Linked DNA regions of Homo sapiens: all the other regions are linked to region 1. Evidence: promoter capture Hi-C in human tissues and cell types (Jung and others, 2019). All regions are on one chromosome and are shown on one strand. The core of a region is centred on a gene start or on the middle of the fragment in contact, and the rest is flanking DNA. Distances in the headings are between cores, read along the strand shown. Region 1 holds the start of KCNJ12 (potassium inwardly rectifying channel subfamily J member 12). Region 2 has its middle 13 kb from the start of USP22. Region 3 overlaps USP22 (ubiquitin specific peptidase 22).

What was found. The method cuts DNA at HindIII sites, captures the fragments that hold promoters and counts their contacts. A contact is called where the count stands out against the background at its distance.
Region 2: a fragment that was not itself captured here is called in contact with the fragment with the promoter of KCNJ12 in region 1 in 1 of the 25 tissues and cell types used here (spleen).
Region 3: a fragment that was not itself captured here is called in contact with the fragment with the promoter of KCNJ12 in region 1 in 2 of the 25 tissues and cell types used here (dorsolateral prefrontal cortex and mesendoderm cells).

Annotation. Positions count from the first base shown.
Region 1 is chr17:21,374,062-21,377,827 of GRCh38, forward strand. It overlaps KCNJ12 (potassium inwardly rectifying channel subfamily J member 12), which reads left to right and starts at 2,296. Exons shown (of 3, transcript NM_021012.5): 1 at 2,296-2,852. RefSeq lists an enhancer at 1-19. The HindIII fragment of the contact is 9,762 bases long and covers 1-3,766 here.
Region 2 is chr17:21,054,134-21,057,837 of GRCh38, forward strand. No RefSeq gene overlaps it. Among named protein-coding and RNA genes, the nearest start is that of USP22, 13 kb to the left of the region's middle. The HindIII fragment of the contact is 4,660 bases long and covers 124-3,704 here.
Region 3 is chr17:21,030,561-21,034,054 of GRCh38, forward strand. The region is part of intron 1 of USP22 (ubiquitin specific peptidase 22); the gene reads right to left. Among named protein-coding and RNA genes, the nearest start is that of USP22, 11 kb to the right of the region's middle. RefSeq lists an enhancer at 3,342-3,494. The HindIII fragment of the contact is 5,012 bases long and covers 1-3,494 here.

The sequences.
Region 1 (3,766 bases), core at 1,046-3,545:
TGGCGTGGCAGAGGGGATTTGCTTTGAGGGGCCCTTAATGGCTGCTCATGGGTTGCAATTACAATTAAGAATTGAACTCTGACCCTGCACGTGGGTTGGGAGGGTGGGACGTGGAGCCCAAGGGAGTGGCCCAGGGAGTCAGGCTTGCGTCTCTGCTGGGTGACCTTGGGCAAGACGCTTGCCCTCTTTGTGAAATGGGTCTGATAATGGCTCTGGGAGTGGGGATAGGGAGGGGCGGAGACCTGGCCTGACTCACAGTAGTCATCTTGGGTGTCGAGCCCCTGGGCAGGGGCCCTGTGTGTGTGTGTGTGGGAAGGGGGGGGTGGTGTTCCAGGCGTGAGGATGCCCTGGGCACAGCCACTTGTCCCAGGAGCTGTCAGAATCTTAGACCCAGAGGAGCCCTGAGGTGTTCCCGTCCATTCCCTTGCCCCTTTCTAGGCCACCAGAGTAAGGCCTCGAGGGAGGGATGTCTCAGGCCCCATTCCTCTTGGGACAGCTGAGTGGTCTCTGAGGGTGGGAGCTGGTTTGAGGCTTCTTCCGCAGCTGGCTTGGGCTTCCCCATCTGGGAAATGGAGCAGGGGCAGGTGGGGAGCTGAGTCATTTCCCTCCTTGGTCACTCGGAGGGAGAAGAAGGAAGTTTCCTGAGAGCTTTTGGTCCCCTGGGAGGCTGTTTCTCCCAGGAGGAGGAGGAAACCAGGACACAGTGTGCCAGGCAGGGCAGGGTGGGGGCTGCAGACTTCTGCGATGCCCCTTCTTTCTCCACTGCAGCCCTAAGTTGAGGACACACCTGATTCTGCGTACTGGCTCCACCATCTGGTAGTTCTGTAATTAAGCAAGTGACCACCCCTCTGTGCCTCAGTTCCTTCATCTGTAAAATGGAGCCAATGAGCTTATCCACCACAGATGGCCGCAGTGGTAATGAAATAATTCTAGCTGGGTCCATAGCACAGAGCTCAGAACATATTGAGTGCTCCGCCTGGCTGTTTTACCAGCCAAGTCAAGTGCTAAGCACTTTAGGTAGACTCATCTCATTTAATCCTTGCTACAGCCCCATGAGTGTAGTGATTTCTACTGACAACAGGGAAACAGAGGCACTGAGTGGTGAAGTGACCTGTCCCACAGCTAGTCAGTTGAGGTGGGATTCAAACCCAGGGCAGACTGATGTCGGTGAGTGCTGGGCTGGATTTCACCCACCAGCTGCCTGGGGCCAGGATCCTAGGGCTGGTGGGGCCTGCAGATCACTCTGCTCTGAGCCGCCAGCAATCTGGGTGCGGGCCAGAGAGCCGTCCTCCTCGGTTAGAATCCTGCAGCCAGTCTCCCTGCTGTGCAGACACATAATTATATTTCACATTAAAGGGGAAGCTGGAGGCCAAGGGGGCCAAGGAGCCCTTTGAGGCTCATGCTCTGGGCACAGACTGGCCTCCTCGGCCCAATTCTGAGGCCCTAGGGCCGAGCTGGGGGTCAGACTGGTGACAAAATGGAGTTCCCCTGGGTCAGTGTCCAGGCGAGCAGGTCTGTCTGCCAGGATGAAAGACTTGGCCCCTGCGGGAGGCTCAGAGATATGAGGCCCAGACAATAGGCCTCAGAAAGCTGGGAGGGCAGGGCATTTGGGGACAGGTTGGGAAGAAAGCCTGAGCCTCCAGAGACAGGGGCTCGAAAGAGAAGGGGGTCACATGGGGATCCGGTCGGCAGAGAGAGGTCCAGGGAGGAGCACAGAGAAGGCAGGAGATGGGAGAAGCCAAGCAGCTCAAGATGGAGAGGAGAAAAATGCTATTAGGGTGGGATGGTGTGTGTAGAGGGTGCGTGCCTGGTGTGCAGGGGAAAAGGGCTCTGTGGGAATGCACAAGCTTAGACCTGTGTGTGCGTATGCACACGTGCAGATGCCATCCTGCATGTGCACATATGAGCGAGTGTGCACATGTGCCCCTGCGAACATCATGCATGTGGGGGCATGTATCCTGCATGTTTATGCCTGTGTGTGTGCTCGCCATGCACCTGTGCGTGCGCGCGTGTCCCCGGCGGACGTGCCTGCATGTGTGTGTATGTGTGTGTGCGCGCATGTCCCCGGGAAGTCGTGCCTGTGTGTGTGTGTGTGTGTGTGTGTGTGTGTGTGTATATATATATGTGTGTGTGCGCGCGCGCGTCCCAGTGCGCAAGTGGCTGGCGGTGTGTGTGTAGGGGGCGGCCCGGGACTAGGAGGGGCTCGGGGCCAGGCCGGAGCCGTGGTAGGCTGGTGCAGCGGCTGCGCGGCGCGGCGCGGCGCGGGGCGGGCGTGCTCTCCGCGGAGAGTTAGAGGAGTTGCCGAGCTGAGCTCCGGTGGAGCGAGGCGCGGAGCTGGGTGCGCGCCGAGCCTCTGCCTCCCGCCGCCTCCTCGCCCTCCATTCCTCGCTCCCCGTCTTCTCCCGGCCACACCGCCACTGCTGCCGCCTCCCTGGGAACAGTAGCCGGGGGAGGGGGACTGGCGCGGTCAGAGCCTGCGAGGAGGTGCGGGGCGCCGGGGCGTAGGGGAGCGCGCCGGGCCCTGCCCGAGATCAGATAACAGCCGGCGGGGGAGGGGGTGGGCCGGCCGTGCTCACAGCCGGACCGAGGGACCGACGCCAGCCGCCCCGGCCCAAGCGAGCGCCCAGCGGCCGGGGGCGCCGTCCAGGCGCGCGCCCCCGACCCGTGGCTGGACCAGGGCGATCCGCTTTGCAGAGAAGACGCGCCCCTCGGCATGGAGCGCCCCCGGGAGCTGCCCTGAGGCGGTGGCGGCAGCGGCGGCGATGCAGCCAGCGCGGCAGCTGCCGGGGCCAGGAACGGCCGCCCGGAGCTTGGAGGACGCCGAGCGCGCCGCGCCCGGGCCACTGACCGAGGTAAGTGCGCGGCCGCGGGCGCATGGTCCCTCCCGGGCCCGGCCCCAGTTCCCCGCAGGCCGCGCCTCGCCACTAGCCCGGCCCGGAGCTAGCACGAGGTTGTGCAGCAACAGGGAAGGTGGAGCGGGAGGGTGTTTTCTTCCTCTCGTTTTATTTTTTTCCCTCCCTTGGTGAGACATCGGAGGAAATGCTGACTGCGAGCTTTTCTTTTCCTGCCATGTCTCCGGCTACCACCACAAGGAACTTTGCTCCTGGCTAACCTTCGTCCTGGGGGGCGCTCCGGGAAACTTTGAGGAGCCCTCGGCCCCCCTCTGACTGGTTTGCACTAGGGGGCTCGGGAGGGAGCGTGCGGAAGCACTCTGGCGCGCGGCACGGGTCCTACGCGTGACCTTCCCGGAGACCCCGCGATCGAGGTGGGGTTCGGAGGTGGGCGCCCGGGCTATATGAGCCGCCCCGAGAATGCCTCCCGTCAGAGACCTGCGGGTTCTTGGAGTCGTGTCTCTTTCTCACCTCCCGTGCTGTAATGGAGTAAAAATATTCTGGAAATGATTCCATGCCAGCAAGTCAGCCAAGTCCAGAGGCTCCCTTTTGCTTTTAGAAGTCGGCCTTGATCTCCGAGGGGATGGCCGCTGGCTGAGAAGCTCCCAGGGTTTCAGGGCCAGGGTCCACCCTGCGCGCGCACGGCCTCTCCGGGTGCCCTGGGGGAGCGGGGCGGGAATCAGGGGCTCATGGGCAGAGACAGCTGGGGTGGGGCGCTCCTTGGGGGGTTCAGATGGGAGTTGAGGCCCAAGCGAGTGTCTGTGCCTCGGTTTTGATCCAGCGTGCCCATGTCATGTGAATATTTTAAAACCTGTGATCAGAATGGGGGTCAAAGTGTTTCTTTGGGGACGGTCTTGTTCTGGGAGGTTTTCCTG
Region 2 (3,704 bases), core at 1,204-3,703, 320 kb before region 1:
GCAGTCCTCTGCAGGGAGGCTGTGGGGCTTTCCATGCAGGTTCTGGGTGATCCTTCAAAACCTCTCTTCTGGCTGGGTGCGTTGGCTCACGCCTGTAATCCCAGCACTTTGGGAAGCCGAGGATGGCGGATCACTTGAGGTCAAGAGTTCAAGACCAGCCTGGCCAACCTGGTGAAACCCTGTCTCTACAAAAAAATTAGCTGGGTGTGGTGGCGGGCACCTGTAGTCCCAACTACTCGGGAGGCTGAGGTGGGAGAATCGCTTGAACTCAGGAGGCAGAGGCTGCAGTGAGCCGAGATCTCACCACTGCACTCCAGCCTGGGCGACAGAGTGAGACTCTAGCTCAAAACAAAACAAAACCTCTCTTCTAGTCCAATTTCTTTTCACGTTACTAAGGGCCTGCCAGGCCAACCCTGGATCCCACAGCAACACATCCTTTCCCGTTGGAAATCCAGAGGACAGTGACTGCTTTCCACCACATAGGCCAGCTGTGAAAATCCCTGGACCCCCCTTCACCATACAGTGCAACCTCACCATATGGGGGTTCGTGCAGCTCATTATGAGAATCACCCACTCATGGACACCCCATACAACCTCACCAAGACTGCCATCACCATGGGAGAGCCTGGCTTGTCTATCAACACAGACACCACTTAAGATTGAGAGCCTTGAAGGGTAAACAGGGTACCCGGAGGCATCCAGACTGAAGGAGTGAGGGCCACACTGTGAAGGGAGGTGTGAGGATGACCCTAGGACCACAGCTTGAACTGGATCCCAAAATGCCCTGGGCACAGTGCCACCTACAGCTTCAGAACCATCTTTATCTTATCCTGTCCACCTGGGAGTCCTCCTTCCCCGTCTCACCGTGATGACCTGCAGGAGTGTCTCTTAGCCACAGTCCTCCTCTGTGATTGTCAACCTATAGAAAATGTAAACTATAGATTTTAGAGAACCTTGTTCTGTAAAATCACGGACTGTCAGAAACTTTGCTGTTTGAAACCATGTTAGTGAGACTGGAACATTCTTTGACACAAAGAAGCAGCCTCAATTTCCAGCTGAAACAGGATTTTTCTCTTCTTTCTTTCTTTTTTTTTTTTTTTTTTTTTTTTTAGAAAAGAGCTTTTTAACTTTGGGAGGCTGACGTGGGCGGATCACGAGGTCAGGAGATCAAGACCATTCCGGCTAACACGGTGAAACCCCTTCTCTACTAAAAATACAAAAAATTAGCCGGGTGTGGTGGCGGGCGCCTGTAGTCCCAGCTACTCAGGAGGCTGAGGCAGGAGAATGGTGGGAACCCAGGAGGCAGAGCTGGTAGTGAGCTGAGATGGCACCACTGCACTCCAGCCTGGGCAACAGAGCAAGACTCGGTCTCAAAAACAAACAAACAAACAAACAAACAAACAAAGGAGCTTTTTAAGCACAACATCCTACATTTATTTTAACTTTGTAGTTTCTAAGGGAACAGGACCCTGGGTCGGCTTCTGATGTTAACCCCTTTATAGCTTTACACACATAATCCTGCTTGCTTCACGCCTATCCACAACACTGATTCATTTATATTGTACCTAACCTCCACCCTCCTCCAGATCCTGTAAGAACCCTGCCTCTATGTGGCCAGGCGCAGTGGCTCATGCCTGTAATCCCAGCACTTTGGAAGGCTGAGGCGGGTGGATCATGAGGTCAGGAGATCGAGACCATCCTGGCTAACACGGTGAAACCCCTCTACTAAAATACAAAAAATTAGCCGGGAATGGTGGCGGGCGCCTGTAGTCCCAGCTACTCGGGAGGCTGAGGCAGAATGGCGTGAGCCCAGGAGGCGAAGCTTGCAGTGAGCAGAGATCGCACCACTGCACTCCAGCCTGGGAGACAGAGCTAGACTCCGTCTCAAAAAACAAACAAACAAACAAACAAACAAACCCTTCCTCTACCTTTGTTTGAAGAGGACACCAGGTTCCTCAGGTAAGTGATCACTCTTGCTGCAAGGATGCTAAGAAATCCATTGTTTTGGGACTACAGGTTTGTCCCTGTTAGGTTGTATTACCGTCCTGGAAATGGTACATTTATAGCCTAACAAATATACAGGAATGGATTTTTACATCCACAGAGTAGAGAACAAAGAGAAAAATTGCCCCTCTGTCATCACAGAACTTTACATCATGTTTTCTAAAAGTTTAAAACTCAAAAATGTGGCCGGGCACGGTGGCTCACACCTGTAATCCTAGCACTTTGGGAGACTGAGGCAGGTGGATTGCCTGAGCTCAGGAGGTCGAGACCAGCCTGGACAACACAGTGAAATCCCACCTCTACTAAAAATACAAAAAAATTAGCCAGGCATGGTGGCGTGTGCTTGTAATCCCAGCTACTTGGGAGGCTGAGGCAGGAGAATTGCTTGAACCCAGAGGGCAGAGGCTGTAGTGAGCCGAGATCGCGCCACTGCACTCCAGCCTGTGTGACAGAGTGAAATACCATCTCCAAAAAAAAAAAAAAAAACCTCAAAAATGTTCCCTAATGTGTTATTCCCGTGAATAACTCATGTGACTCCTGTAGAGACATTCAGTAACACCCTCCCCTTTGAACTTTTGAACTGATGCTGAAGGAGAGCCCCCTTATTATAAAAATGCACGTTTAGATCTCTTTTCAGATGTGCAGCCTTTTTTTTTTTTTTTTTTTGAGACGGAGTCTTGCTCTGTCGCCCAAGCTGGAGTGCAGTGGCGCGATCTTGGCTCACTGCAAGCTCCGCCTCCCGGGTTCACGCCAATCTCCTGCCTCAGCCTCCCGAGTAGCTGGGACTACAGGCACCCGCCACCACGCCTGGCTAATTTTTTGTATATTTAGTAGAGATGGGGTTTCACCGTGTTAGCCAGGATGGTCTCGATCTCCTGACCTCGTGATCCGCCCACCTCGGCCTCCCAAAGTGCTGGGATTACAGGCATGAGCCACCGTGCCCAGCCCAGATGTTCAGCCTTTAAAAAACTGTTCTATGGAATGTTAGAATGAATATCACACTGAAGCCTCAAATAAGCACCAGCCACCCAACTGAAAGGGTGACCAACTTATGGTCATCTTGTCAGAAATTGCATCCTCTCAGCTGAACCCACAGCTAGGGTTGCGGCAAGGATGTTCCCTTGTCTGGTACCCTTGTTCCCCTGTTCCCTTGTTCCCTGGTCTGGTACCCCAGACCAGCCCTGGATGGGATTCCAAAGAAAGAAGCACCAAACGCCAGGGTGACCAGTGCAAAGCATGCATTAGGGCGCTTACATACATAGGGCTGTCACAGGCCTCAGGTGGCCTTCAGGGAAATGGGTGCCCCCCGGAGAGGAGCCCTTGGAGAGGGGCGTGGGGAAGGTGTCAGTTGCTACATGTTTAGCAAGATGTTTGATCTTGAAGTGTTTTGGACAACAACATAAGCAAGTTTATCAGTGCCTGGGAATGTTCAGGGCCCCAGCTCAGGTTCCAGCCCACAGCGGAAGCATGCAGCCAGCCAGATCACAGAGTGGCCAAGGTGCTCTCTGTGTCTCAGAAAGAAAGTGGGAGAAACTGGGAGACCCTACACATATAAGCTTCTAACCAAACTCCCCAATTCTACTTTATTTTTGACTATTTTCTAACCTAAAGAGAAGTCATAAGAATTATGCAGTGAGCACCCATAGACACTTCATCTAGATTCTCTAGTTAGCGATACGTTTTTAATCCAGTTTTCTTAC
Region 3 (3,494 bases), core at 657-3,156, 340 kb before region 1:
CACAGAGCAGGCAAGTGCAGAGAACAACATGGCGGCGCCTGTGGCGTGCTCAGACCAACACGACCCATCTGGAACCTGCTCCTGAGAAGTAGGGAGGTATGTCCAAATTGAAGGACTTCTGCAAAATGACTGACCTGAGCTCTTCAAAAACATTAATGTAATGAAAGAAAAATAGGCTAGGAATTTCTAGATGAACCAAATCTAAAGACACATGAAATCAAATGCAATCCATGATCTTGGATTGAATCCTATACGCCAATTTTTAAAGGCATAAAGGATATTATTGGAACAATTCAGGTATTTAAAGTTGGACAATGTATGTTAGATAGTACTATTTGAAAAATTAAACTGAGTGTGATAACTGTATTGCGCTTATGTAGGAGACTGTCCCAGTTCTTAGGAGGTAAACTACCATGATGTCTACAGTCAGCCCTCAGATGATTCAGAAAAAGGTACAGACATAAAACCAGTTAGCAAGAAGCTAACAATTGATGAATCCATATAAATGTATACAATATTCATTTTAGCATTCTTGCTATTTGTTGTAGGTTTCTTATTTTCCAAATAAATGGATAGAAGACAACTATTAAATTGAACACATGTACCCTACAGCCTAACGCTTCAATTCATAGGTTTATACGCAACCAAAGACACGTACAAGGACTTTTGTAGCATTATTACTTGCAACACCGCAGAGCTGAAAATACAAATGTTCATGACTTGTAAAAAGAATAAACTATACTACAGTTAATTGAGTAAAGTACACAGCAATGAAAAGGAACTTATGATATACTCAGCAGCGTGGATGAATCTCAGAAACCTAACACTGAACAAAACAACTAAACACAACAAGCTCCTGCTGTGCTACACACTCCATTATAGTCTATCTCTACTACACAACCTAGGACTGTGCTACACACTCCATTATAGTCTCTCTCTACTACACAACCTAGGACTATGCTACACACTCCATTATAGTCTATCTCTACTACACAACCTAGGACTGTGCTACACACTCCATTATAGTCTCTCTCTACTACACAACCTAGGACTGTGCTACACACTCCATTATAGTCTCTCTCTACTACACAACCTAGGACTGTGCTACACACTCCATTATAGTCTCTCTCTACTACACAACCTAGGACTGTGCTACACACTCCATTATAGTCTATCTCTACTACACAACCTAGGACTGTGCTACACACTCCATTATGGTCTATCTCTACTACACAACCTAGGATGCTCCCCTGCACGGGTTTACCAATCACCAGGGAAGACACATTTTACAGGCCTTATGGAGCCAACACAGCTAAGAGACAGCTTCTCCAACATTATTCAAGCAGCCAACCAACAAGACAACTGGCGCTAAATACAGAAAACAGCTGTCTCTGACATACTGATAAAACCTCAATCTTATGTCTGGTATAGTCACACACCACATAGCAATGTTTCAGTGAATGACAGGCTGCATGTACAATGGCGGTCCCAGAAGATTATAGTATCATATTTTTACTGTAACCTTCTCTATGTTTAGCTATAGAAACACAAATGCTTACAACCGTCTTTCAACTGCCTACAGTGTTCAGTACGGTACGTGCTGTACAGGTTTGCTGCCTAGGAGCAACAGGCTCCATCTCACACAGCCTGGGTGTGCAGCAGGCTGTACCATCTAGCTTTGTGTTAAGTCACTCCATGATGTTCACACAAAGACAAAATCGCCTAACAATGCATTTCTCAGAATGTATCCTGTTGTTAAACAATGCCAACACTGCATTATTATTTTTCCCCAATCTACACTGTGGAACAGCACGTCCATTGATAATACTGTATCAGATTTAAATGTAACAGAGGCAGACACAGGAGTAAGGTAGCACATGTCTTCCAGTGTCTGGAGGAGGCCAGGAATAGCCTCTGGAGTGGCTACCCTGCAAACACTTTATTTTGGACGTCCAGTCTCATAATTTGAGATGAAATTTCTGTTGTTCTAAGTTAATCGGTTTGTGGTGGTTTGTTACAGCAGGCCCGGTCACTCACATGGGGTTCACATTCATTTTTATTCTATCTCCTTTCACAGCACTGTAAAGTAGAAAACACAGCCAGGCGTGTTGGCTCACGCCAGGAATGCAGCACTTTGGGAGGCCGAGGTGGGAGGACAGCTTGAGGCCAGGAGTTCAAGACCAGCCTGGGCCAAATGGTGAAACCTCATCTCTACAAAAAATGCAAAAATTAGCTGGGCATGGTGGCACACACCTGTAGTCCCAGTTACTCAGGATGGTTTGAGCCCAGGAGGTCAAGGCTGCAGTGAGCCAAGATCGCACCACTGCCCTCTAGCCTGAGCAACAGAACCAGACCCTGTCTCAAAAAAAAAAAAAAAAAAAAAAAAAAAAAAAGTTGAAAATGCATTCCCCAGGCACCCTTGCAGCTCATGTTCCAAACATATCTTGAGACACATTTGCAGACGATGCGGTTGGTGAGTAAGCTAAGGAGAGAGGCCCAGTGGGGGCATCCACAGGCTGACATGGACCGTGGAGGGGTGGCACTGTTTAAGCAGCCCAGCACACCACTTTCTGGTGTGGTGGCTCCTGCAGAGGCAGGATTCCCCAGGCTGGCGGGTTTTCCTAGAAATTCAACCTAGAATCTACTACTCCATAGCCCTTGCAATGATTTCTGAATTAAATCCTTTTCTCCTATAAATTAATTCAAGTAGATTCAGTAGACTGCAAGCAAATCCTGAAACATAACTAGGATTTGTATGTGACAGGAATTAGAAGAGGATCAATTATTTAATTGTTGTTGATCTTATGCAGTACAGAAACACCCTGCCAAATTCATTAATTTGGTCCCGATATTAAGAATATTCCTCTGAATATCCTGTCCTCTTATCTCCCCACTCACACTACCTCCCACCCCAAGAAGGATGCGGAGGAGCAAGAGGGGCAGAGCCCTTGTAGTCAACCAGACTTACCCTATGGGATGACTCAACAGTACACTGAATTTTGAGTCCAGCTTTTAAAAGTGTGCAAACATGACACACCACCTTAAGAGCTAGTGCACTTTTCACACATTACCCATGACTTCCTACTGGTCTAAAACCTGAGCATCTTAGGAAGGTAAGTTTAATTCTTGTGCATTCTCTTCAGTGACTTTTTCAAGGACTCAAACACTGACATAAGTGAAGGGACAGGTATAATTTTTTTTTTTTTTGAGAAGGAGTCTTGCTCTGTCACCAGGCTGGAGTGCAGTGGCGTAATCTCCGCTAACTGCAACCTCCGCCTCCCGGGTTCAAGTGATTCCCCTGCCTCAGCCTCCCGAGTATCTGGGACTACGGGCGCGTGCCACCATGCTCGGCTAACTTTTTGTATTTTAGTACAGATGAGGTTTCACCATGTTGGCCAGGATGGTCTTGAACTACTGACCTCAAGTGATCCACCCACCTCAGCCTCCCAAAGTGCTGGGATTACAGGCATGAGCCACCGTGCCCGGCCTAAATA